Linked DNA regions of Homo sapiens: regions 2, 3 and 4 are each linked to region 1. The links are contacts of gene promoters, found by promoter capture Hi-C in blood cells and fetal thymus (Javierre and others, 2016). All regions are on one chromosome and are shown on one strand. Each heading gives the region's core, a stretch centred on a gene start or on the middle of the fragment in contact. The rest is flanking DNA. Distances are from core to core; before and after follow the strand shown.

Evidence for each region. The method cuts DNA at HindIII sites, captures the fragments that hold promoters and counts their contacts. A CHiCAGO score of 5 or more calls a contact.
Region 2: the fragment with the promoter of ZNF527 here is called in contact with the fragment with the promoter of SCGB2B2 in region 1 in 1 of 17 cell types (monocytes); the score reaches 5.8 in monocytes.
Region 3: a fragment that was not itself captured here is called in contact with the fragment with the promoter of SCGB2B2 in region 1 in 1 of 17 cell types (monocytes); the score reaches 5.2 in monocytes.
Region 4: a contact is called between the fragment with the promoter of ZNF345 here and the fragment with the promoter of SCGB2B2 in region 1, in 1 of 17 cell types (monocytes). The highest score is 6.5, in monocytes.

What each region holds. Positions count from the first base shown.
Region 1 is chr19:34,675,909-34,682,284 of GRCh38, reverse strand. It overlaps SCGB2B2 (secretoglobin family 2B member 2), which reads left to right and starts at 5,126. Exons shown (of 4, transcript NM_001025591.4): 1 at 5,126-6,376. It overlaps ZNF302 (zinc finger protein 302), which reads right to left and starts at 4,607. Exons shown (of 5, transcript NM_001289187.2): 1 at 4,182-4,607; 2 at 3,472-3,548. The coding sequence starts at 3,480. It also overlaps the pseudogene ZNF807P and the pseudogene SCGB1B2P. RefSeq lists enhancers at 2,482-2,983, 3,841-4,737, 4,869-4,928, 4,979-5,078, 4,738-5,635 and a silencer at 4,359-4,418. The HindIII fragment of the contact is 5,389 bases long and covers 2,700-6,376 here.
Region 2 is chr19:37,367,126-37,373,501 of GRCh38, reverse strand. ZNF527 (zinc finger protein 527) reads right to left here and starts at 2,403. Exons shown (of 5, transcript NM_032453.2): 1 at 2,276-2,403. RefSeq lists a silencer at 2,004-2,313 and enhancers at 2,344-2,653, 2,824-2,873, 2,894-3,033. The HindIII fragment of the contact is 7,295 bases long and covers 432-6,376 here.
Region 3 is chr19:37,220,629-37,227,004 of GRCh38, reverse strand. ZNF383 (zinc finger protein 383) reads right to left here. Exons shown (of 6, transcript NM_001387601.1): 2 at 2,066-2,187. Among named protein-coding and RNA genes, the nearest start is that of ZNF383, 5.6 kb to the right of the region's middle. The HindIII fragment of the contact is 239 bases long and covers 3,807-4,045 here.
Region 4 is chr19:36,847,512-36,853,887 of GRCh38, reverse strand. It overlaps ZNF345 (zinc finger protein 345), which reads right to left and starts at 3,012. Exons shown (of 3, transcript NM_001242472.2): 1 at 2,920-3,012; 2 at 1,984-2,058. It also overlaps a transcript of ZNF790 not described here. RefSeq lists an enhancer at 3,250-3,489. The HindIII fragment of the contact is 2,588 bases long and covers 662-3,249 here.

The DNA.
Region 1 (6,376 bases), core at 3,877-6,376:
TGATTATGTTCCCCAAAAAAGCATGTATTGAACTTAATCACCATTCTAATAGTATTGAGAGGTTAGATCTTTAGGAGACTATTGGGCCTTGAGGACTCTGCCCTCATGAATGGATTAATGTCATCATCAGGGAAGAGGGTTCCTTATTTAAAAAAATGAGTTCTGGCCCCCCTTTGCCTCTCTCTCGTCTCTTTGCCCATCCACCACAAAAGGACACAGCAAGAAGGCCCTTGCCAGATGCCTGCCTCTTGATCTTGGACTTCCCAGGCACCAAAACCATGAGAAGTCAATTTTCATTATTTATAAACTACTCAGTCTGGGGTATTTGTTACAGCAGCACAAATGGACTAAAACATACACATAACTGATTCATAAACAAAAAAGAAAAATATATTTGTGGTGTATACTTAAACTTCGTGCTGACAAACATTTAATAATTAAAATATGAGACTCCTGGGTGAAAAGACTGAAGGATGGTTTCATGTCATAGATCAGGGGTCTAACACCTGGGCCACGGACTGGTACTGGTCTGTGGCCTTTAGGAACCGGGCAACACAGCAGGAGGTGAGTGGCAGGAAAGAGCATTATCACCCGAGCTCCACCTGCTGTCAGATCAGCTATAGCATAGATTCTTACAGGAGCGCAATCCCTACTGTGAACTGCACATGCAAGGGATCGAAGTTGCACACTCCTTATGTCAATCTAATGCCTGATGATCTGAGGTAGAACGGTTTCATCCCCAAACCATCACCTCCACCACCTCCCACTTCCGTGGAAAAATTGTCTTCCACGAAACTGATCCCTGGTGTCAAAAAGGTTGAGGACTCCTGCCATAGACAGTCCTTAAATAGGACCTGGAAGGGGAAAAAAATAAGAGTAGATTTCAAAGAAAATATTCTAAGGAAATGCTCACAGATGTGCTTAGAAATTCTTCTCAATAGTACTCATTTCACAGTATTATTTAAAATAGTAAAACTTTAGAAGTTTAAATATTCAATAATAGCTTATTGGCTAGTCAAATTATAATATGTGCAAAAAGTACAGCCATTTAATACAGAGTTATTACTGTCTGTGATTTGTAAAACAGACTGCTCTACTGTGGTAATTTTTTAGCTCTGAGAGTTCATTCAGTATTGTATTACTTTATTTGGATATTTTGCATGCATGTTCACCAGTGACATGGATCTTTGGTTTTAAAGGCAGAATTTACTTTTCTCAGGTTTGGAGAAAATAATTAAAATTCGAATCGCCTTCCAATGGCAGAAAATCCTCTCCACAAATGTAGAAAAAAAAAGAAAGCAGTTTTATTACTGAATAAGCTAAATCAGACCTTGATGCACTTCACAAGCGATCCACTATTGAGATGAAAAGGACAGGAAGAAATCTCATCTTTTTATATAGGCAAGCAGATACAATCCAACACACATTTTCCAAATAAACAATAACTTATCCTCAAGTAAGATTTGACAGTTCAATTTGCTACACAAAATTTCTTCTAAATTCACCTGTTAATTGGAGTTGCCACTGTGTTAATTGCCTATATCCCAAATAAAAATAACATTTCTCATATCTTTGACAAACCAGTCATTACAACTTAGAGCCAGGGATGCTTCTTTCTTCCCCTTCAGTTGCCTGGGCAGCTTGAGATGTTCACTCATCTCAGTTCCCAAAAGAACATAGGATATCTATCCTAGCACTTATTTAAATTTCCCATGCTTTCTTACTTTTCTACCAGTGCCACAATCTTCAATACAGGAGCCACTAGCCAACTTGGCTACAACATTTAAATTAATTAAAATGTAAAAATAAAATAATTAAATAAAATTTAAAATTTATTTTCTCCATTGCTTAAGCCACAGTTCAAGTACTCAATAGTCAGATGGGGCTGTTGGCTACCGTACTGATCAGTACACATGCACAGCACTTCCACCACTGCAGAAAGTTCTCTTAGACAATACTGCACTAGATCATGAAGTCCTGTGTGTCAGTGTACACCAAAATCCATGTACAACTCTTCCTAACAGGTACTTCATAAGTGTTTAGAAGATGAACCAATGAATGGTTTTGGCATTAGTTCACTTTAGCCTTTACTTTGTTTTTTCTTTCAAGAGGCAGGTTCTTGCTCTGTCACCAAGCTGGAGTGCAGTGACATAATCATAGCTCACTACAGGCTTACACCAGAGGGCTCAAGAAATCTTCCTACCTCATCAGCCTCCCGAGTAACTGGGACAACAGGCATGCACTACCACACCAGTTTTTCAATTCTAATTATCTTAATTATTCCATGAAAACAGACTTCACCCAAGATGTACATCTGCTACTTACATCCCCTCCTGTGCAAGCTTCACCTTCCATGCCATGATTCTGCCCCACCAGTTCTTCATTACTCATCTTATTCACTCCACAATTACTTACTAAGCATCCATTTGGTGCCAGGTAACACTCTGGGTACTGACGCTATAACAGTCAACAAAGAAGAAAAAGCATTCCTCCCACCAGGAACAGACAATGAGCACGTGCATATACTGAACATACAGTACATCAGCTAGTGAGTGACACACACTGTGGAAAACAACAAAGCAGTGATGGAGGAGTGGAAGCGCTAGGGAAGGTGACTGCAATTGCAAATAGGCTTTCAGGGAAGCTGTTCTGAGAAAGTAACCACGGAACAAACACAGAAGGAGATAAGGATGCAAGCTTGTGCGTATGTGGGGGAAGAATATTCCACGTGGATGGCACAGCAACTGGTGACAGAGGCTGGAGCGCACAGGAATGAGGAGGCAGAGAAGGAAGGTGGGATCAGGGAGGTAATGGCCTAATTGTACAAATAGGTCATTGCAGAAGTGACTCAGTTAGAACCACTGAAAAATTTTAGGTTGCGGAATGACAGGAATTTATATAACAATAGGACCATGGTCACAGCTGTACTGAGAACAGACTGATGAGGGTTAAGGGCAGATGCTGGGAATCCAGCTAGGAGGCTACCGCAATAATCCAGGTGGCTCGGACTGGGGTGGTAGTGGTGGTGGTGGTGATGGGCTAACTAATGGTCAGATGCTGTATACGGTGTATCGTTTAGATCCAAACTAGAGGACCTGAATATGAGTTATAAGTCAAAAGGAAGAATCAAGGATGACTCCAAACATCTCTTCACTTGAGACCACATGGTACAGTTTTGACAACCATAAACCGAATAACCTTACATTCCAAAGTTGCATTGTGAATTACAGTTTTAAAATGTTGGCAATCTAGAAAGTCTTCTAGCAGAAAACTGTAGAAAAGAGGAACACTGGGTGATGAGGACAATACCTTGGAGCTCTCCTGTGGGCTCCATTCTTCCTATAGTGAAAGGAACCATAGATCTAGTCCCTTAAATGGACTTGATTAGGTGGGAACAGGCAGGAGAAGCAAAGCAAACACACAGAGGCCTAATAAAGTGTTTCAGGAAGATTTGGGGACACACCGACTTACCTGAGACATTATTCTGCAATTTCCAATGGCCAACAGAGTCCCCTTTCCAGGTTCTTATCTTAGAGATGGGCAGTGTCCTGAGGGCACAGAAAGGCAGGAAAAAGCAGTCATGAAAAATCGGGCTTATCTTGCGGCACCTGTCACACACCTTAATGGAAAAGCACACTGGTAATCACTCGCCGGAGCGTCAATCTCTCCCTGGGAAGGAACAGGGTGTTTCTCCGCAAGGGCTATTTACCAGGTGCCACCTGCGGGGAAAATCAATTATTCTGTATACAAAAGACTCATAAAACAACGGTAACAACTTTATCAGCTCGTTCAGTCTTCACCACTTTGCAAGGTGTGCATTCATATTATTCCAGATTTTTTTTTTTTTTTTTTTGAGACGGAGTCTCGTTCTGTCTCCAGGCTGGAGTGCAATGGAGCGACCTCGACTCACTGCAACCTCTGCCTCCCGGGTTGAAGCGATTCTCCTACCTCAACCTCTCGAATAGCTGGGATTATAGACACGTGCCACCACGCCCAGCTAATTTTTTTTTGTATTTTTAGTAGAGACGGCGTTTCGCCATGTTCGTTAGGCTGGTGCGGTGGCTTACGCCTTTAATCCCAGCACTTCGGAAGGCGGAGGCGGGCGGATCGCTTGAGGTCGAGTTCTAAACCAGATTTATTTTTTAAAATGAAGACAAAACTGAAATTCCGAGATACTGAACCCATTTGTTCAAGGTTGCACAACTGAAAGCGCCGGCTTCATGACGACATAACCCAAAAAAAACTGTAGCTGGCGTCTGCTCTCGCGCCCACTTCGCTCTCACAACAGTGCCAAGAGGTCGGCGCCGTCATCACCCCGCGTTTACACGGCTCAACAGGAAGGCCAGGAAATGCCCAAGGCCCCGGCCGTGGTCAAACCGCGCGCGGACCCAGGGCCTTAGCCCCGCCGTCGCCGCGACCCACACTTGCCGGAGTCCTCAGCAGGGCCTCACCGTCCCGCAGGCGCCCCGAGCCCGCGCCTCCGCGGACCTGACGCGCCGCGTAGCTGGTGAGCGGGTAACGGCGGCCGACCTCCGGGAACGACACTGCCCCAAACCGTTCCTTAGCTTGGAAGCCGCCGCCAGGCCTGAAGCTATCGCGGGACTGACCCAGTGCACCGCCCACGGCGAACCACATTTCCCAGAATCCTCCCCCTGCGGTACAAATGTCCCGGAAGCCGCGAACCGCCGGCACCCGAAGACCACACTTCCCAAGGGTCTCTGCGGCTGCGCGGACCTGGTGCGCCGCGGGCAAACCGGTCACGGCTTTGTAAGTAGCTTAACCGCCTGGGGCCGTCGACCTAGAGCCGGCCAGCTAGGACCATGCGCAAATTGTCCTGGGGCACACAGTCGTCCTCTGGTGAACGATACAACTCGAAACCAAGGGACACCCTCTACTTATAAGGGCCATGGCGCCCGGACCAAGAAATTACATTTCCCAGAAAACTGCAGCCGTGCCAAGGTCTTCCGGGTCATTCCTGCGCTCACACAAACGTTTCCCTCCGAGACATGGGCAGCCCTTGCTGGTACCGCGCAAGTGCTCGCCGTTGCTAGCAAAGGGGCTCCTCTCATCCCAAACCCTGCCGCTATGCTGTTCACCTTCAGGTCTTTTTTTTTTTTTTTTTTTGGCACTCATTTGCCCAAGACGATAACTCACAAAACGCCCTGTGGCCCGACTGTCACGACTGTAGTTCGCCAACCAAGGGCATTTCCTGGAAATGCAAGGGGACACGTATCTGTGACACTAATGGCCGTTCTGACGTGCGTTACGCCCCTGGAAGGACTTGGAAATACTGAACTTGAGTGAGCACTGGGAGGATGGAGACCCTCATCCTGGGAGGAGTCACTCCTCCCGCAGCCATCACAGCCTGACGCCCCCTCTCCCCAGAAGTGCTTCTTAGGCCCACCCAAAAGGGCAATGGACCTCTCTGTATGCAAGCCAGAGCAGTCTACTGTTTGTGTATATTTGGGTTGTTTACTTTCTTTTTAACACTTAAATGTTAATTGACTTCAATCATTTTTAAAATTATAAATAGTGTCGCTATAGACTTTTTTGTACTTATTAAGTACTGACCTGCATGATCTTCGTGAAGCAGTGCTTCTGTTACCAGAAAGGGGTCCGGATCCGACCCCAAGAGAGAGTTCTTAGAGCTCACGCAAGAAAAAATCCATGGGAGAGCACAGTGCAAAGCCAAAGCAAGTGTATTAAGAAAGTAAAGAAACAATGGGTACTCCATTGTTAGAGCAGCAGCTTGGGCTGCTGGACTAGGGATACTTGTATTTATTGCTTGATGATGTGCTAAACAAGGGTGGATTATTCATGAGTTTTCCAGGAAAGAGGTGGGCAATTTCAATTTCTCGGAGCTGAGGGCTTCCCAGCTTTTTGAACCATACAGGGTAACTTCTGAACCTTACCATGGCATTTGTAAATTGCCATGGCACTGATGAGCGTTTCTCTTAGCGTGCTAATGCATATAATTAGCATATAACCGAGAGGTGAAGCCAGCTGGGCTTCTGGATCAGGTGGGGCCTTGGAGAACTTTTCTGTATAGCTGAAGGATTGTAAATACACCAATCAGTGCTCTGTGTCTAGCTAAAGGTTTGTAAATGCACCAGTCAGCACTCTGTAAAAACGGACCAAACAGCACTCTGTAAAATAGACCAATCAGCGCTCTGTAAAATGGACAAATCAGCAGGATGTGGGCGGGGCCAAATAAGGGAATAAAAACGGGCCACCCGAACAACCAGCGGCAACCGCGCTGGGGTCTACTTCCCAGGTGTGGGATGTTTGTTCTTTTGCTCTTTGGGTCTGCACTACCTTTATGAGCTGCAACACTCACCCTGAAGGTCTGCAGCTTCACTCTTGAAGCCAGCGAGAC
Region 2 (6,376 bases), core at 1,154-3,653, 2.7 Mb before region 1:
GGTGTATTCTAATGACAGAACACCACCAGACCATTGTAGTCTCTCAAAAAATTAGATAAATGAATAAATAAATTTTACTGTGCCTTATGTAATATAAATATACAATGTTAACTCATGCTGTGTTGGGCAAGTAATTTTAATCTTCCTGTGCCTCACAATCAGACTAGGTCCGACATAATCCCGTGATCTCACATACACATAAAATTCTCACCCAATCACAAACATATACACATTTACACAATCGGTGGCATAATCTCTCTCTCTCACACACACAGCCGTATTAGCACAAAGATAGAGAGACTGTCACACATGGTTATCTCATTGTGTCATTATCTCATTTAATCCTCAGAACTACTACTGCTCCACAAAACTACAAAGATAGGTATTAATATCTCCACTTTACTGGTAGTAAAAGGGAGGTTCCAGAAGCTTAAACAACCAACTCAAAGTCCGGGGTCCAACTGAAATGTGACCTCAAAACCAGTCCTCTTTTGAGAGGCCACGATGTCTGAATGGGAAATATTCAACACAACCCGAGTAATCAATGCCATATATTCCTTAGAGAGGCATCTTTAGAGATGGCAGGTGTTACCTTTATTTCTCTACAGAAATGCAGCCTGAGGGAAACATCGCCAAATTTTAATACTAAAGCAACAACAAACTGGGCAATCTGAAGTAAGTTCCTTGTCCTCTTAGAGCCAACATTTCTTCATTGTAAAAATAGAGACAGGCTGGGCACAGTGGCTCACACCAGTAATCCCAGCACTTTGGGAGGTCAAGGTGGGCAAATCACTTGAGACTAGGAATTCAAGACCAGCCTGGGCAACATGGCAAAACCCCATCTCCTCAAAAAGTACAAGAATTAGTTGGGCGTGGTGGCATGTGTCTGTAGTCCCAGCTACTTGGGAGGCTGAGGTGGGAGGCTTGATTGAACCCAGGAGGTAGAGGGTGCTGTGAGCCGAGATTGCACCACTGCACTCTAGCCTACAGGACAGAGCAAGACTCTGTCTCAAAAAAAAAAAAAAAAAAAAAAAGAAAAGAAAAGAAAAGAAAAGAAAGGGACAACTGTGGTTGACCTAGAATTCAGTATACATCACCCCCTAATTTCACCCCCTAATTCTGGACTACTTTGCACTAGGCAACTCAGTCCCTAGCAGTTATTTCCTTAGTGTAGTGCAGCTTGAAATTGTCCATAAAAACTGCAGCAGGGCGCAGCGCCTCACGCCTGTAATCCCAGCACTGTGGGAGGCTCTGGTGGGCGGATCATGAGGTCAGGAGTTGGAGACCAGCCTGGCCAAACATGGTGAAACCTCGTCTCTACTAAAAATACAAAAACTAGCTGGGCGTGGTGGTGCGCGCCTGTAATCCCAGCTACTTGGGAGGCTGAGGCAGGAGAATCACTTGAACCTGGGAGGCGGAGGTTGCAGTGAGCCGAGATCGCATCATTGCACTCCAGCCTGGGCAATAGAGTGAGACTCCATCTCAAGAGAAAAAAAAAAAAAAAAGCGAGACCTCTAGAGCTAAACTGCTTGGGTTTGAGTTCTGGTGCTGTCACTTGTTAACTGTGTGAACTTGGGTAATTCTAATATTTCTGTGCTTCATACATCAATCCCACAATCTCATATATACACACAAATTCTCACCCAATCACAAATGTATAGAGTCACACAAACACACCCATAATCTCACACAATACACAGCCACATAAGCACAAAGATAGATGGTAACATACAACTACACCAACAGAGATAAACAATCACACACAATCACACACAAAGTAGCATACCACAGAAGTCACACATCTTGTCACAATTACTGATACAAAACTATACCTGCGGAGACAGATGGTCATAGTCGCACAATCACACTTGCTGTCACACACATTCAAACGCAATTGTATCCGCAGAAACAGGTGGTCACATAACCACACACATGCATTTACACAAACACACAATGTCACACCCCAGTCTCTCATAAACACATACACAGCTACACCTGCAGAGACAGTCACACACAAACACACATATTCACAGTTTCACCCCCAGACACAGATGGTTACAGTCACACACAAGCGGGCGCACGCGCACAAACACACACACACAGTGACACAAGATCACATTCTGTCACACCCGCAGCCTGTCACATAGTTGGTAATACAGTGAAACACACACGGCCTCCCCAGCGACTCCTGCCGGGTTCCCATCCCTGGCGCGGCCGGGCCACCCGGAGCCCGCCCTTGACTTCCCGCTCCCGCCCGGGGCCCGGCCCCACTCACCTCCCGGCGCCGCGGGCTCTGCAAACGGGCCCCGCGACCGAGACCCGCGACGTCACCTCCCAGAATCCTCCGCGAGGAGGAGCGAGGCGAGGACTGAGGCATGCAGGACTCTGAGCTCTGCGAGATCTGAACCAGCGACACCGCGTTCCCCATGGACCCCGCGAACCACGAGCCCCAGAACGCTTTGCGCCACGGCCGTCATCGTTGAACTACATCTCCCAGAGAACCCCGCGGCCCCCTCCACTGCGCGCCTGCGCCACGGGGGCAGGTACCGGAGAGGGCTGTGTGCGGTCGTAGGCTCTCCAGTGACCTTGAGCTGCTGTGTTGGGGAAAGCGGCCAGGCTGCGCGCGGGGCTGACTGGTTGAATGCTTGGGTGTGGTGGTTCGTGTGTGACTGTTGCTGCACACCTTTATGCTTGCCGACGAAAGGAGCGGCGGATTTTGTCAGTGCAGGGAGCTTCTGTATTTTAAATCACGTCCCGTGATTGTGGGTAGCTGAATGTGAAAGTGATTGTGGATGAAAGAGACTGTGGCTGACATTGGGGGTGACCGTTTCTGTTACTGTGAGGATACCACTGATCCGATGTGTATCTGACTGTCTCCTGGTCTTACTGTTCCTTCACCCCCATCTCCTGCCATGGGCGGGGTCTGTGGTATCTTTTATTGAGGCAATCTCGGCGCTCACTGCAACCTCCGCCTCCCGGGTTCAAGCGATTCTCTTGCCTCAGCCTCCTGAGGAGCTGGGATTACAGGCACCTGCCACCACGCCCAGCTAATTTTTGTATTTTTAGTAGGGATGGGGTTTCACCATGTTGGCCAGGATGGTCTTCATCTCCTGAACTTGTGATCCACCTGCCTCGGCCTCCCCAAGTGCTGGGGTTACAGGCATGAGCCATCGCACCCGGCCTATTTTATTATTATTATTATTTCTCAATTGGTCAAAATAATATATTTAACATTTTAATATTATTAAACATACAAAAGGCCACACTTTGGCCCTCCTCTAGTCAAGCAGTTTCCTTCCTGGTGAAAGTCCATAGGCAGAAACATGCCTGCAAAGATCTCACAACCTTCTTTCAGACCATGCTCTGGGTATCCAAATCCCCAGGATTTCCTGTTCAAATGGACTCCAGCCTGCTTCCAGAGCCTGTATCTCCTCTGTGTCCAAAGACCCTTCCCTTGATCTGTCTTCCAAAGGTGGAATGTGCTGCCTATCCACAAAATGTGGCCAAATGAGAGCAATTTGGTAAGGCTAGACAGAGCTTAGATATGCAAGCTGGAGTGTCCACATGTGGGAATAGAAGACCTCTTACGATGTGGGACAAGGATGGCAGTGGGAACAGAAGGGGACTGGCTGGGGACCTCCATCTGTACTGTTGACCCAGGTCTCTACATGTCAATGACAGGCTCATTTATGTATAAACTATTTTGGAGACCAATGGTCTTATGATGATGGTGGTTTGAATTAGGGTCATCACTGGAAGAGGCAATGAGAAATTGTCAGATTGGGATACAGTTTGAGTGTAGAACTAACAGAAGTTGCTGATGCTTGGTTGTGAATATAGGGAAAGAGAGAAGTTCAATATAATGCCTAAATGTCTTGAGCCCCTGGAAAAATGGTAGTGTTATTTACTAAGATAGGGGAAAATGAGTATGTGGCAGTTATCTAGGATGGGGTGGGTGGTGAGGTATCATGTTAAGTCGCAGATGCTTGTTGGATTTCAAAAGAGTGATATCAAGTAGGCATTTAGATATATGTGTGTGGAGCTCAGTGAAATGTTGGTACTAGAGATACGAATTTGGGAATTTCAATTAAGATGCTTTTAATAGGAAGTTATACAGTTATATGCTCAACTGAAAGTAGCTTATACAGTAAAGATATTTATTTCCCCACTTAGCAAGAAGTTCAGTTGGCTTAGCAGGTGACCAATTGTAGCAAGAATCCTTCCTCCTGCTCTGCAGTCCTCAATGTATTGGCAGTGTTGCTTTATGTGGTTGCAAGGTAGCTGCAGCAGCTCAGGTCCTCACACAATGTCTTCATTCTGTGTCTAGTTCCAGAATGAAATACTTTTGTTTTTCATTCTTTCGGGTCTCTTTTTTTTTTTTTTTTTTTTTTTTGAGACAGAGTCTTGCTTGCTCTGTTGCCCAGGCTGGAGTGCAGTGGTGCAATCTCGGCTCACCGCAACCTCCACCTCCCGGGTTCAAGTGACTCTCCTGCCTCAGCCCCCGAGTAGCTGGGGTTACAGGTGTGCGCCACCATGCCCGGCTAATTTTTGTATTTTTAGTAGAGACGAGGTTTTGTCATGTTGGCCAGACTGGTCTCGAACTCCTGACCCCAAGTGATCCGCCCGCCTCAGCCTCCCAAAGGGCTGGGATTACAAGCATGAGCCACTGTGCCTGGCCCCCAAACATTATCTGACCACACTTAGATAACCACTGTTACATAATAATTAGAATTAAATGAAATAGCTATTTAAAAACTTACTTAGATCAGGCGTGGTGGCTCAGGCCTGTAATCCCAGCACTCTGGGAGGCCGAGGCAGGTGGATCACCTGAAGTCAGGACTCGAGACCAGCCTAGCCAACATGGGGAAACCCTGTCTCTACTAAAAATACAAAAATTAGCTGGGCATGGTGGTATGCACCTGTAATTCTAGCTACTCAGGAGGCTGAGGCAGGAGAATCAGTTGAACCTGGAAGGCGGAAGTTGTGGTGAGCCAAGATCGCACCACTGCACTCCAGCCTGGGTGACAGAGTGCGACTCCATCTCAATAAAAATAAATAAAAATTTAAAAATAAATAAACAAATAAAAACTTACTATGACCTCTTTTAAAATTGAACATTTTAATGGTGACCCTAACAGACTTGTGGATTTGAGGTGATATTGTCTCATACTGTTTACCATCTGTTCTTCAAAATTTTCTTTGTGTAGTGTAGTCTACTACTTACCGTGAGAATGGTAGGATGGACAGTGGTTACTCTGGGACAGGTTTCTGTTGGTTTTAAACATCTAGAGCTGTCATCTCAGGATGGGAAAGATAAAGCACTAGTGAATGGCTTTCTAGACAGACTGGAAAATCATCAAAACACCAGACTCAGAAGAAGCCACATAACTGAATACTTTGTGGTGCTTGCCTCCTAATCAGGTTCCAAATTTGCACACAGATTTTAGTACCAGGCCAGGCCCAGGTGGACAGCTCAGGTTATCTGCCTCAATTTTCTCTCCTGAGAGGTTCTGAGCAGAGGGCCTAATGTGAGTTTAACAATCAACACGGTTGGGGCTGGGGCTGGGCCAAAGGATAGAATGTAGCCTTCTACCCCTTTCTTACAATTCCTGTTCTCTTTGCGTGGCTCCATAGAAACCATATCCTGGGGTTTGTATCTTTTTAAATATATTTAAGTCTTCAGGTAGCATCTGTTCTATTTTTTGCTAAGAATTTTTAACAATTTAAGACAAAATCTTAGTTATATGGATGAATTAAATTGAAAGCTGTATACTATCACACTGTTCTTTATTATTATTTTTGAGACAGTCTCACTCTGTCGCCCAGGCTGGAATGCAGTGGCCAATCTCAGCTCACTGCAATCTCCGCCTCCTGGGCTCAAGCGATTCTCCTCCTGAGTAGTGGGTATTACAGCCATGCACCATCACGGCCTGGCTAATTTCTGTATTTTTAGTAGAGATGGGGTTTCACCATGTTGTCCAGGCTGGTCTCGAACTCCTGGCCTCAAGTGATCCACACGCCCCAGTCTCCCAAAATGTTGGGATTACAGGTGTGATCTACCACACCCAGCCACACTGGTCTTTAAATAAAATAAAAATAAATTGAAAGCTGTGATATTCTTTCTAAAAGTTAAACACAAAAAGAACATGTTTAACTTTGAAATCGTTTTGTGACACAATTTTATGGAAGAGAATAATTAAATTCTAAGACTCTAGGGGATTAAAACTCAATAGTTTTTAAACTATTATAAAATAGTTTATCTCAAAAAGTTTTTTTTTTTTTTTTTTTGAGATGGAGTCTCGCTCTGTTACCCAAGCTGGAGTGCAGTGGTGTGATCTCAGCTCACAGTAACCCCCGCCTCCCAGGTTCAAGCGAT
Region 3 (6,376 bases), core at 2,677-5,176, 2.5 Mb before region 1:
AAATTCTGTCTTTACTAAAAATACAAAAATTAGCTGGGCATGGTGACGCACGCCTGTAGTCGCAGCTACTTGGGAGGCTGAGGCAGGAGGACCAGGAGGCGGAGGTTGCAGTGAGCTGAGATCGTACCACTGCATTCTAGCCTGGCAACAGAGCAAGACTACATCTCAAAAAAAGAATAAATAAATAAATTTTAAAAATACGACTACCCCAGGTCAATATATCTTATAGTGAAACTGCAGATTTCACCATGCAAAAATTTAAAGCACACATCTTGTCCAATAAATGAACTTACAAAAATTAAAATCTATATTAAAAATAGAAACTTACATGTCTGTTGAAGTATAAAAAGGGACTCAGTCTCATGATCAACAGCTTAGGAAACTTAAATGCACATTGCTAAGTGAAAGAAGCCAATTCAAAAAGACTACATACTGTATGATTACAACATTCTGGAAAAGGCAAAACTATGGAGACAATAAAAAGATTAGGAGTTGACAGGGAGGGAGGATCAGTCAGGGCACAGAGGCCTTTTAGAGCAATGGAATTAATGTGGATGACATCATAATGGAGATAAATGTCATTACACATTTGTCCAAACCCCTGGATGTGTAACACCAGGAGTGAACCCTAATGTAAACTATAGACTCTGAGTGTCCATGTGGGTTCATTAGTTGTAATAAATGTACCACTCTGGTGGAGGATGTTGATGATGGGGGAGACCATACGTGTGGGGGAAAGACGTGTATGGGAAATCTCTGTACCTTCTGCTCAATTTTACTGTGAACCTAAAAGTACCCTAAAAAATAAAGCATATTAAAACAAATAAACAACTACAAAAAAGTAAGTCCTGTCACATGCTACATGTTTGAACCCTGAGGACATTATGCTAAGTCAGGGATTCAAGCAATGTATTTATAAATAACTGGTGGTTCAAAGAATAAATTGCAATGGAAGTTAAAAATATTTTACGAGGTCAGGAGATCGAGACCATCCTGGGCAACATGGTGAAACCCCGTCTCTACTAAAATACAAAAAAAAAAAAAAAAGTTAGTTAGACATGGTGGTGCGCGCCTGTAGTCCCAGCTACTTGGGAGGCTGAGACAGGGGAATCGCTTGAACCCAGGAGGCGGAGGTTGCAGTGACCTGAGATCGCACCATTGCACTCCAGCCTGGTGACAAGAGCGAGACTCCTTCTCAAAAAAAAAAAAAAAATTTAAACTGAATGATAATAAAAAGTAACATGTCAAACTAATTTATCAAAGCATTCAACTAATTCATTATTATATTGTATCCCGTTACTACTTGGGTTTGTGTGTGTCTACTGACTAACTGCAGTGAATCCCCTTTCTATCTTGGGGTATTGTGACTGGAAAGAAGCCAGTCACAAAAAGACAAATACTATTATAAATGATTCCACTTACAGAGGTATCTAAGGTAGTCAAACTCATAGAAACAGAAAGTAGAACAGTGGCTGCCAGGGGCTGGGGAAAGAGGGAAATGGGACATTGTAGCTTAATAGTTATAATTCAGTTTGCAAGATGAAAAAGTTCTAAAGATCTATTGTACAATATGAATATACTTAACACTGGAATGTACATTTAAAAATGATTAGCTTGGTGTGGTGGTTCACACCTGTAATCCCAGCACTTTGGGAGGCCAAGGCAGGTGGATCACCTGAGGTCGGGAGTTCGGGACCAGCCTGACCAACATGGAGAAACCCTGTCTCTACTAAAAATACAAAATTACCTGGGCTTGGTGGCACATGCCTGTATTCCCAGCTACTCGGGAGGCTGAGGCAGGAGATCACTTGAACCTGGGAGGCAGAGGTTGCAGTGAGCCAAGATCGCACCATTGCACTTCAGCCTGGGCAACAAGATCAAAACTCATCTCAAAAAAAAAATTATTAAGATGGCCAGGCGTAGTGGCTCATGCCTGTAATCCCACCACTTTGGGAGGCCAAGGCAGGTGATCACGAGGTCAAGAGTTCAAGACCAGCCTCACCAATATGGTGAAACCCCGTCTCTACTAAAAACACAAAAATTAGCCAGGCATGGTGGCACCCACCTGTAATCCCAGCTACTCAGGAGGCTGAGGCAAGAGAATCGCTTGAACCCGGAAAGCAGAGGCTGCAGTGAGCTGAGATCATGCCACTGCACTCCAGCTTGGGCAACAGAGTGAGACTCCGTCTAAAAAAAAAAAAACAAAGATTAAGATGGTAAATTTTACATTGTCTTTTATACCACAATTAAAATGAAAACAAAATCATTGAAAAAAAAAAAAAAGCTAGCTGGGCATGGTGGCACATTGTCTGTAGTCCCAGCTACCCGGGAGGCTGTGATGGGACAATCACCTGAGCCTGGAAGGTCGAGTTTGCAGTGAGCTGTGACTGCACCACTGCACTCCAGCCTGGGTGACAGAGTGAGAGGCCCGTCTCTCAAAAAAAGAAAAAAACAAAAAACCAGAAAAATCTACATGTTCAATGAAGTATAAAAAGGGACCCAGTATAATGATCAGTGGCTCAGATTCCAATGAGCTTATTTTGTGGAACCAAGTCCCAGGTACCAAACACTAATTAATTAATTGAGCCCTCAGCCTTTAAGTTAAGTCTGTGGTTGGTTTAATTTTCCTCTTATCAGATATTGGCAATTTTTGTGTTACTTCATATTTTAAGTTTTGTTAGAGATTTATTAATTTTATTAATTCCCAAAAATAAGCTTTTGCCTTTGTTAGTTTTCTTCACTGTACATTCATTTTGTATTTCAATATATGTTCGTTATGTACAGCAAAACACGTACACCTTAAATATATGCAATACCAAATAAACTAAAAATTTTATATTTGGGCTTTTATTCTTATTATTTCCTAGATTTTAATTTTGGGGGTTTAACTTTCTAGACTTTTCCTTAGCTTCTTGAGATGAATACATAGATCATTAATTTTTCAACATTAATTTTTTTCTTTTTTTTTTCTGAGATGGAGCCTCACTCTGCCGCCCAGGCTGGAGTGCAGTGGCGCGATCTTGGCTCACTGCAACCTCTGCCTCCCAGGTTCAAGCAACTCTCTGCCTCAGCCTCCTGAGTAGCTGAGATTACAGGTGCCCGCCACCATACCTGGCTACTTTTTTTTGTATTTTTAGTAGAGATGGGGTTTCACCATCTTGGCCAGGCTAGTCTTGAACTCCTGACCTCGTGATCCACCAGCCTGGGCCTCCCAAAGTGCTGGGATTACAGGTGTGAGCCACTGCGCCCGGCCAACATTCATTTTTTTCTAACATATGCATTTACAGCTATATATTTTCCTCATATTCAGCTTTAGAAACATAATTTTGGTATGTTATTTTTCATTATCACTCAGTTTAAAATATTTTAAATATCTATCACAATTTATTCTTTGAGTCACCAGTTATTTATAAATACATTGCTTAAATCCCAAACATTGGGATATTTCTTTAATTTTTGTTTTTTTAAATTTAGAAATGGGGTCTTGCTATATTGCCCAGGGTGGCCTAAAACTTCTGGGTTCAAGCAATCCTCCTGCCTCGGTTTCCTAAAGTGCTGGGATTACAGGCATGAGTCACCACACCTGGCTGGGATATTTCCAATTATCTTCTTGTTATTGACTTCTAGCTTAACCTACTGTGGTCAGGAAAGTTACAGTATTATTTCATTCCTTTGAAATTTATTGAGACTCCCTTTGTGGCCCAGCATATGATCAATTTGGATAAATGTCTCATATGCATTTGAAAAGCAAGTATATTATGTAGTTGTAAGGTACACTGTTCTATACATATCAATCAGGTCAAGCTTGTCAATCACACTGTTCAAATACCATATAGCTTTATTGGGTTTGTCACTTGTTCTGTCAGCTATTGAGAAGAGTGCTAAAAACTCCCCACTAAGATTGTGATTTATCTACTACTTCTTTTAGTTATGTCAAATATATTTGAAGCCATTTTATGAAGGCATATAAATTCAGAACTGTTATATCTTACTGGTGAATTGATCTTTTTATTATAAACTATTCCTCTTTATCTCTAGTAAAGCTTCTTGTTGTAAAATCTATTCTTGTCATAAAGTCTACACTGCAGTTTGGAATATAGATTGATACCACTATTTCAGAAAACTGTCAGTATCTATTAGAGCTGAACATATACAGAAACCATGACCCAGCAATTTCACTCCTAGAAATACACCCAAGACAAATGCATTCATATGTGCACCAAAAGACATGTAAAAGAATGTTCCCGGCAGCGTTTTTCATAACAGCCTCAATATGAAATCAAATGCCAATCAGTAATGGAATGGATAAGTAAAATGTGTTATATTCGGCCGGGCACGGTGGCTCACACCTGTAATCCCACCACTTTGGGAGGCCGAGGCGGGCGGATCACCTGAGGTCAGGAGTTTGAGACCAGCCTGGCTAACATGGTGAAACCCCGTTTGTATTAAAAATACAAAAAATTAGCTGGGTGTGGTGGCGTGCGCCTGTAATCTCAGCTACTTGAGAGGCTGAGGCAGGAGAATCGCTTGAACCCAGGAGGTGGAGGTTGTGGTGAGCAGAGATGGTGCCATTGTACTCCACCTTGGGCAACAAGAGCGAAACTGTCTCAAAAACAAAAAAAAGTGTTATATTCATACAACAGAATTTTAAACAGCAATAATAATGTGTTCACTATATTCATTATATCACCTATAACTAACGTGCAGCAACATGGATGAATTTTATATATTTATACTACATATTATTACAGAATACATTCATATTACATACGAAATACAATATTGAGCAAAAGAAGCCAAGCATCATCTCCAAGTGAAACTGACAGTAGGAAAAAAAAAGTGAAAAAAAAAGAAGCCAAGCAAAATTCAAGTATAGGTAAAATTAGTCTATGGCTATAGAAGACAAACTATTAGTTCTCTTTAGGAGAAGTGGGTAGTGAGTGAACTGGACAAGACTTGGGCTTCTGTAATGCCAGTTATGTTTTATTTCCTTATCAGATTTGAGATCTGGTCAAAGGAATATGCTTTTTCTTTTTTTTTTTTTTTTTTGAGACAGAGTCTCGCTCTGTCGGCCAGGCTGGAGTGCGGTGGCACAATCTTGGCTCATTGCAAGCTCCACCTCCCGGGTTCACACAATTCTCCCGCCTCAGCTTCCCAAGTAGCTGGGACTATAGGCGGCCGCCACCATGCCCGGCTAATTTTTTGTATTTTTTTTTTTTTTTTAAGTAGAGACGGGGTTTCACCGTAGCCAGATGGTCTTGATCTCCTGACCTCATGATCTGCCTGCCTTGGCCTCCCAAAGTGCTGGGATTACAGGCACGAGCCACCGCGCCCAGCCCGGAATATGCTCACTTTTATACAAGTCATCAGGTCATATACCTTGATTTTGTACTTTTCAGAATGTATGGTATATATATATATTTGAGACAGGGTCTTGCCCTGTTGCCCAGGATGGAAGGCAGTGGTGCAATCGCAGCTCACTGCAGCCTCAACCTCCCTAGGTTCAAACAATCCTCCCACCTTATCCCCTGAATACCTGGGACAATAGCAGCATGTAACCATGCCTGGTTAATTTTTGTACTTTTTGTAGAGATGGGGTTTCACCATCTTGCCCAGGCTTGTCTCAAACTCCTGGGCTCAAGCAATCTGCCCAGTAGGCCTCCCAAAGTGCTGGGATTACAGGCATGAGTCACCATGCCTGGCCCCAGAATGTATGTTATACTTTTAAAACAACATGATATATCATGGTATCAGCAGATTCATTAAAGATTAGAATACCAAATGACCATGTGTTAGAATACAAGATGACTATAATGTTTATAAGCTGTCGGTAGGAATTTAATTTATAAAACTATATTGTAGATCAGTTCAGCATTATCTAGGAAATTTAAAGATGCAAAACATACTGTATGGCCCAGCAATTCCTTCATACACTTATATCCTGGAAAGGTATGCATATATGCTGGTATACTTGTAAAAACATTTTCACAGCAGCCCTGTCATACAGGAAATAACCAACGTCTGAACTGCAGCTATGTATAGCAGCGAGAGTGAGGCTAACAAATATAGTATTTTATAAGAAAGGCAAGACTCAAAACAACATCATACAGTACAATTTAATTTATATAGTGTTAAAAAGGCAAAACTAAACTATATTGTTTAGGGATAAGCAGATATGTGGTAAAAAACAAAACAAAACAAAACTTTTTTTAAAAAGTCAAGAAGAAAATAACGATTATCAAAGTCAGGATAAGTGTTGCCTAAAGAGGGAGGTAGGATAAGTTTATTCTGGGGAAAGGACTAGCGGGCTTTTCTGGACTGCTGAAGCAAGTTTTTGTTATGCTGAGGGTCTCTTTATAATTACTTCTTAAACTAT
Region 4 (6,376 bases), core at 1,763-4,262, 2.2 Mb before region 1:
AATACAAAGAAACACAAATAGCCAAGACACTCTTGAGGAAAAAGAAGGTAAGTGTACTTGCTCCAAATACAAAGTTACAGTGAGTAAGACAGTATGTTATTACTGCGAGGAGTGACAAATAGACCAGTGGAACAGAATCCAGAAATAGACATAGACATATATGTTCACTTGATTTTTTTACTAAAATGGCACTGCATATCAGTGCAGAAAATATGAACTTTCCAATAAATGATACTATAATAACTGGATACACACTCGGGAGAAAAATGAAATTCAATCCTACCCTATAAAAATTCCAGGTGGTGTAAAGACCTAAACATTAAAGCCTACCCTAGAAAGCTTTCGGCTTGGCCAGGTGCGGTGGCTTATGCCTGTAATCCCAGCACTTTGGAAGGCTGAGGTAGGCAGATCACCTAGTTCCAGGCCAGCCTGACCAACATGGAGAAACCCTGTCTCTACTAAAAATACAAAATTAGCCAGGTATGGTGGTGCATGCCTGTAATCCCAGCTACTTGGGAGGCTGAGGCAGGACAATCACTTGAACCCAAGAGGCGGAGGTTGTGGTGAGCCGAGATCATGCCATTGCACTCCAGCCTGGGCAATAAGAGCGAAACTTCGAGTCAAAAAAAAAAAAAAAAAAAAGAAAGAAAGAAAGCAAGCTTTTGGCTTTAAGACCAAAGAAAATCTTCATTATCTTGAGGTAGACAAAAATTTCTTAAACAAGACTAACCATAGGAAATGATTTTATTACAATGAAATCCAGAACTTCTATTTGTCAAAAGGCACCACATAGAGTGAAAAGTCAAACCAGAGCAGGTGAAAATACTTATCACACATACAACTGAAAAAAGATTAATTTACAGAAGATATATACACATATGTACAACTGCCGTAAATCAGAGAAAAACCCAATTAAAAATTGGTCAAATATTTGAACAACACCTTATAAAAGGGGACATTCAACTGCACTCCAGCCTGGGCAATAGAGACTCAGTCTCAAAAAAAAAAAACAAAAAAAACAAAAAAGGGGACATTCAAATGGCCAAGAATCAATGCTCAACTTTATTAGCAATAAAGGAAATTTAAATTAAATATAACATTAGACACCCACCAGATTGGCAAAAATTTAAGAGTTTTATGATGTCTAGCATGGATGTGGAGCTAAGAAAACTCTTGTAAACTGCTGGCATAAGTACAGTATCTTTAGAGAACAGTTTGGCAATGTTTGGTAAAACTGAAGATGTACAAACCCTACCTATTAGCACTTTTTTTTTTTTTTTTTGAGATGGAGTCTCACTCTGTCACCAGGCTGGAGGGCAGTGGCACAATCTTGGCTCACTGCAACCTCTGCCTCCCGGGTTCAAGCGATTCTCCTCAGCCTCCCAAGTAGCTGGGACTACAGGCGCGTGCCACCACGCCCAGCTAATTTTTGTGTTTTTAGTAGAGACGGGGTTTCCTCATGTTGGCCAGGATGATCTTGATCTCTTGACCTCGTGATCCGCCCGCCTTGGCCCCCCAAAGTGCTGGGATTACAGGCATGAGCCACTGCATCCAGCCACTATCAGCAATTTAATCACTAGGTATATATTCTAAAGAAATGCAAGCAAATGTGTACCAAAATATGCGCACAAAATGATCATAGTCACACTGCCTGTAGTAGCCAAAAATTACAAGACAAATGTCCATCAAGAGTAGAAGGATAAGGCCGGGCACAGCAGCTCACGCCTGTAATTCTGTCTCAAAAAAAAAAAAAAAAAAAGAAAGAAAGAAAAAAAAAAGAAAAAGAAAAATTAAAACCATCTGACAAATCAGTAAGGGAAAATCAGGTGTGGGAGGTGGGGTTTGAAGACACCACATTTTCTCAAAATGGAAACTCCAGGGATCAGGTCATCTCATAGGCAAGAATTTTCAAGAGAAGGAAAGCAACTATGTCCTGACAAAGAAAAAGGGATTTTTCTTAAACAAGAGGACAGGACAAGCTACCTTGCAGGTGCCTTGTGGATGTTCAACAGCCATTCTTTACTCCTGTTCGGAGGCCTCTATCCAAGCAGGGCAGGGCTGAGGAAGGAGAAAGCAGTCAGGAAACATCAGGTTCTTCTGAGAGGGAGTTGGTTTGACTATGTCAGAAGTTATCTTTGCTCAGCCCCTACTGCCCATCACCTACAGAGGAAGGTCAGAGAAGTCTAGGGCATCCTGCTTAATCCGGGCATCACAGACAACGGTAGGGTCAATGCCGTTCTGGGCAGAACCTGTCCCTGAGCTCACAGGGGTCTCCAATGGCTGAAGTCACAAAGACAAAGACTCCCCATACCTACATTGGCTATACGGACACATAGTCACACAAACTCACTCACACCGCAGGGACATAAACGTCACAGGCACCCCAAACCTAAACACAACACACAATCACACACTCATACACACCACGGGGGTAGACACGGACACAACCACAGAGTCCGTGGGCATCTCTCAAATTCCCAGTGACATACACCTTGGGGTCACAATGACAACAAATTCACACGCACCCTCCATCAACAATATCACCAACGCGCGCGCACACACACACACGGAAGCAGCCACAAACCTCAAAATTAAGGCATACTACACACAGTTCGGCAAATGGTAGTAAACACACACACACACACCCCAAGGGGACATACAGTCACAACCGCGGTCCAGGAACCTCACACTCGCAAACACAGTGCCCAACCCGGTCACAATTAAACTCTACTCACACCCGCACAAACATAAACAAAAAGTCCTCCTCCCCGCCCTCACAGTTCCATACACGGTCGCACAGACACACGCCCCCAGTCACAACCGTACACACTCCTCACAATCGCTCCTTAGCCTGTTCCCCACGCAGCCCACACAGGTCGGGAGTTCCTGTCGCGCCAGGCTCCGAGCCGCCTCACTTACGCCTGTTCGGATAGGGTCAGCTCCGTTCTACTAGAATCCACACAAGTCGACCCTAGCTATCTCACAAAGCCCCAAGGCCGCTTGCCCAAATCCGCGGGAAGATCCCGCCCACTCCTCAAGAGACAATCTAGTTATCGCGGGAGAGTGCCCTGGGCCTAGAGGCTTCTGGGAAGTGTAGTCCAGAAAGCGACAGGTTGCCGAAAGCTACAGCCCAGCCATCCCGATTCCCCTGGCGCGGACTCTGGCACCAACAAAACTATCTCTTTGAGGTGAGCTGCCCATCGGAGCCTTCCGGGAGTCTCACCTGACAAGGAGTCCCTAGACCAAGCTTTAGTCAGGCTCCTCTGAGCCCTTTTTGCTTGGCCAGGCCTCCTCCATAGCCTGCGAACAGCACTTCAGCAAGAATCCAGCTAAGCCAGTTTAGTAACAATCCCCCCACTCTTGATACTTAACTTCCTCTTAGTAATTTAGCATCCTTTAACTCCTTCACCCAGCCCGTTAGCTATAAATCTCCAGCTGCTGTTGTATTGGAAGTTGACTATTGCAATAGTCTTTAACCAAGTCCTTCTTGCCTGTTTAAGTCCTCTGGGGCAAGCTTTCTTTCACCCCGCCCAGCCTCAGAGGGCGGCTCCCGGGCTTCCGCCCCTCCTCGGGAGACATACTGGACCGCAGGGTCTCCTGGGAAACGTAGTCCAAGCCTCGCCGGGGATAGATGGGCCCAACTAAAGTGTGCTGCGTTCTCTGGGTCCTGAGGCGGCAGTCTGGCCGCAGTGACCAGACTAACTGTGCCCCGGAGGCTGCTTGGAATTCCACTTAACGCTGGAAGCACGCAGACGCTCTTGAGGCGGGCAGCTGCGTAGCGTGTGGAGGAGCCGGGAGAGCGCACCCCAATGTGGCACCTGAGCGTCTGGGACCGAACCAGCATGGGGAGTCGGAAGGGGACAAATCCGCGATCCCAGTCATGCATGTGAGACTGGGCAAAGGAAGGCTCGAGTGTGTGTGAGACCGCGGTGGGCCTGCTTGTGCTGGTGGGATGAGGGGTGTCTGGGTAGTTGAGTGAAAGAAACCGCGTGCGGGTCAGATTGGTGTGTGTGTGAGAGAAGTGAGGTCAAGATGTGTGCAGCTTTGGGCGTGGGGAGGTCATATTGAGTGTGTGGAGGTGGGGGGGGCAAGATCGTGTATGGATCTGTGTATGAGTGTGTGTAATCACCTGAATGTGGGTCACTGCGTGGGTAGCTGATACTATGACTGTGGAGGAATCTGAACCTCCAAGTCTCATTTTCTCTTTAAATTGTGATAACAAGGTTGTATCTTCCTGGTGCAGCAGTTTTAAAGGGGGGAAGCTCCATTACTGATATAATAAAATAGCATTTTTTATGTAAACATTTAACATTCAGACATTTCTTCTGAACTAGAGTACAAAATCAGTTATGAGTACTCCAAGTAGTTTAAAAAAGAAACCCGTCATAATAGATGCATATGGGGAAGATAAATAGTGAAAGGGGAACTTCCTTTTCACTATACTCTTGTTAAATTTTTAAAATCAATGTGAGGACTCATTTGAAAACAAATATAAAATTAAAAAACTGACAGAAAGGGGAGCTAGGAGGAAATCAATAATTTTTTAAGCTAGAAACTTTGGGAGGTGGTAGAGGTTGCCGAAATATGATGGCAGGAAGTGTATGACAACAGGAAATGCTGATGTAAAATATAATCCTGAAGCTTTTAACAATGGCAGGAAGGGCCGGGCATGGTGGTTCATGCCTGTGATCTCAGCACTTTGGAAGGCTGAGGCAGGAGGATCACTTGAGCTCAGGAGTTTGAGACCAGCCTGAACAGCATACTCTCTACAAACAAAACAAAACAAAAAAACCAAGCATGAGTGCGGTGGCTCACGCCTGTAATCCCAGCACTTTGGGAGACTGAAGTGGGTGGATCACTTGAGCCCAGGAGTTCAAGACCAGCCTGGCCAATATGGTGAAACCCCGTCTCTACTAAAAATACAAAATTAGCTGGGCGTGGTGGTGTGCACCTGTAATCCCAGCTACTTTGGAGGCTGACGCAGGAGAATGGCTTGAACCCGGCAGACAGAGGTTGCAGTGAACTGAGATCGCACCACTGCACTCCAGCCTGGATGACAGAGTGAGACTCCGTCTCAAAAAACCCCCAAAAAACAAGGGGACCTCCTCTTTCGGCTTTGGAGCCACCACCCCCCCAACCCCCATCTCTGTATGGGGGAACTTCTTCCTTCTGTCTTCTCCCTTCCTTCTTGCCTATTAAACTCTCCGCTCCTTAAAACAAAACAAAATACAACAAACAAACAAACAAAAAGACCCAAAAAACAAAAACAACAAAATTTGGACTATACAGGCAAGCGATCTATACCTAATGTGGCTCTGTTGCTCTAGTTCTCCAGCATCACATTCCTGTACAGCTCCATCTGAACATCTTTTAATTATGGCTAAGGCTCTTGGTTGAGTGAGGCAATCACATTTTTGTATGTTTACCCCACCAATGTCTCCTAAAAAACAGAAAAAAGAAAACGCCTGTGGGGTAGTCCGGGAAATAAGCTGTTTGAACTCAGCCCTTTGTGTTTCTATGAAGGCTTCATTATGTAGGCATGATTAATTAAATCAGCAGCGATTGGTGATGAGTTCAACCTTCAGCCCTTTTCCTTTTCCCAGAAGTCATGGGGTAGGGCAGAACTTTCCAACATTCTAATCACATGTTTGGTTGCCCTATCCTGTGGTTATGTAGGGGCTTTACTAACTTCACCTCATTAACTCACTTGTGGTTGAAAGGGGTTGGTTAATGAACAGTAAAGACATCTTTCACATTTATTACTCTGGTGCTATTTCAGGAACTGAAGTGTCTTAGTCCCTTAGTACTTCTACAGCAAAATACCTGAGAAGCAAAATACCTGAAAAGTAATTTGTAAATAATAGAAAATTATTTCCCACAGTTCTGGAGGCTGGGAAGTTCAAGATTGAGATGCCAGCAGGATAGGTGTCTGGTAGGTCTGCTCTCTGATTCCAAGATGGGACCTTGCTGCTGCATCCTCCACAGGGCAGGAATGCTGTGTCCCCACATGTCAGAAGGTACTGAAGGGCTGGACCCATTCCCTCAATCCTTTTTTTGAAAGCACTAATTCCATCTATGTAGGCTCTTCCCTCATAATTTAATCACCTCCTAAGGGCTCCACTTCTTTTTTTTTTTTTTGAGACAGAGTCTCTCTTTGTCGCCCAGGCTGGAGTGTAATGACGTGATCTTGGCTCACTGCAACCTCCATCTCCCCAGTTCAAGTGATTCTCCTGTCTCAGTCTCCCAAGTAGCTGGGATTACAGGCACATGCCACCAATCCCGGCTAATTTTTGTATTTTTAGTAGAGACGGGGTTTCACCATGTTGTCCAGGCTTGTCTCGAACTCCTGACCTCAGGTGATCCACCCGCCTCGGCC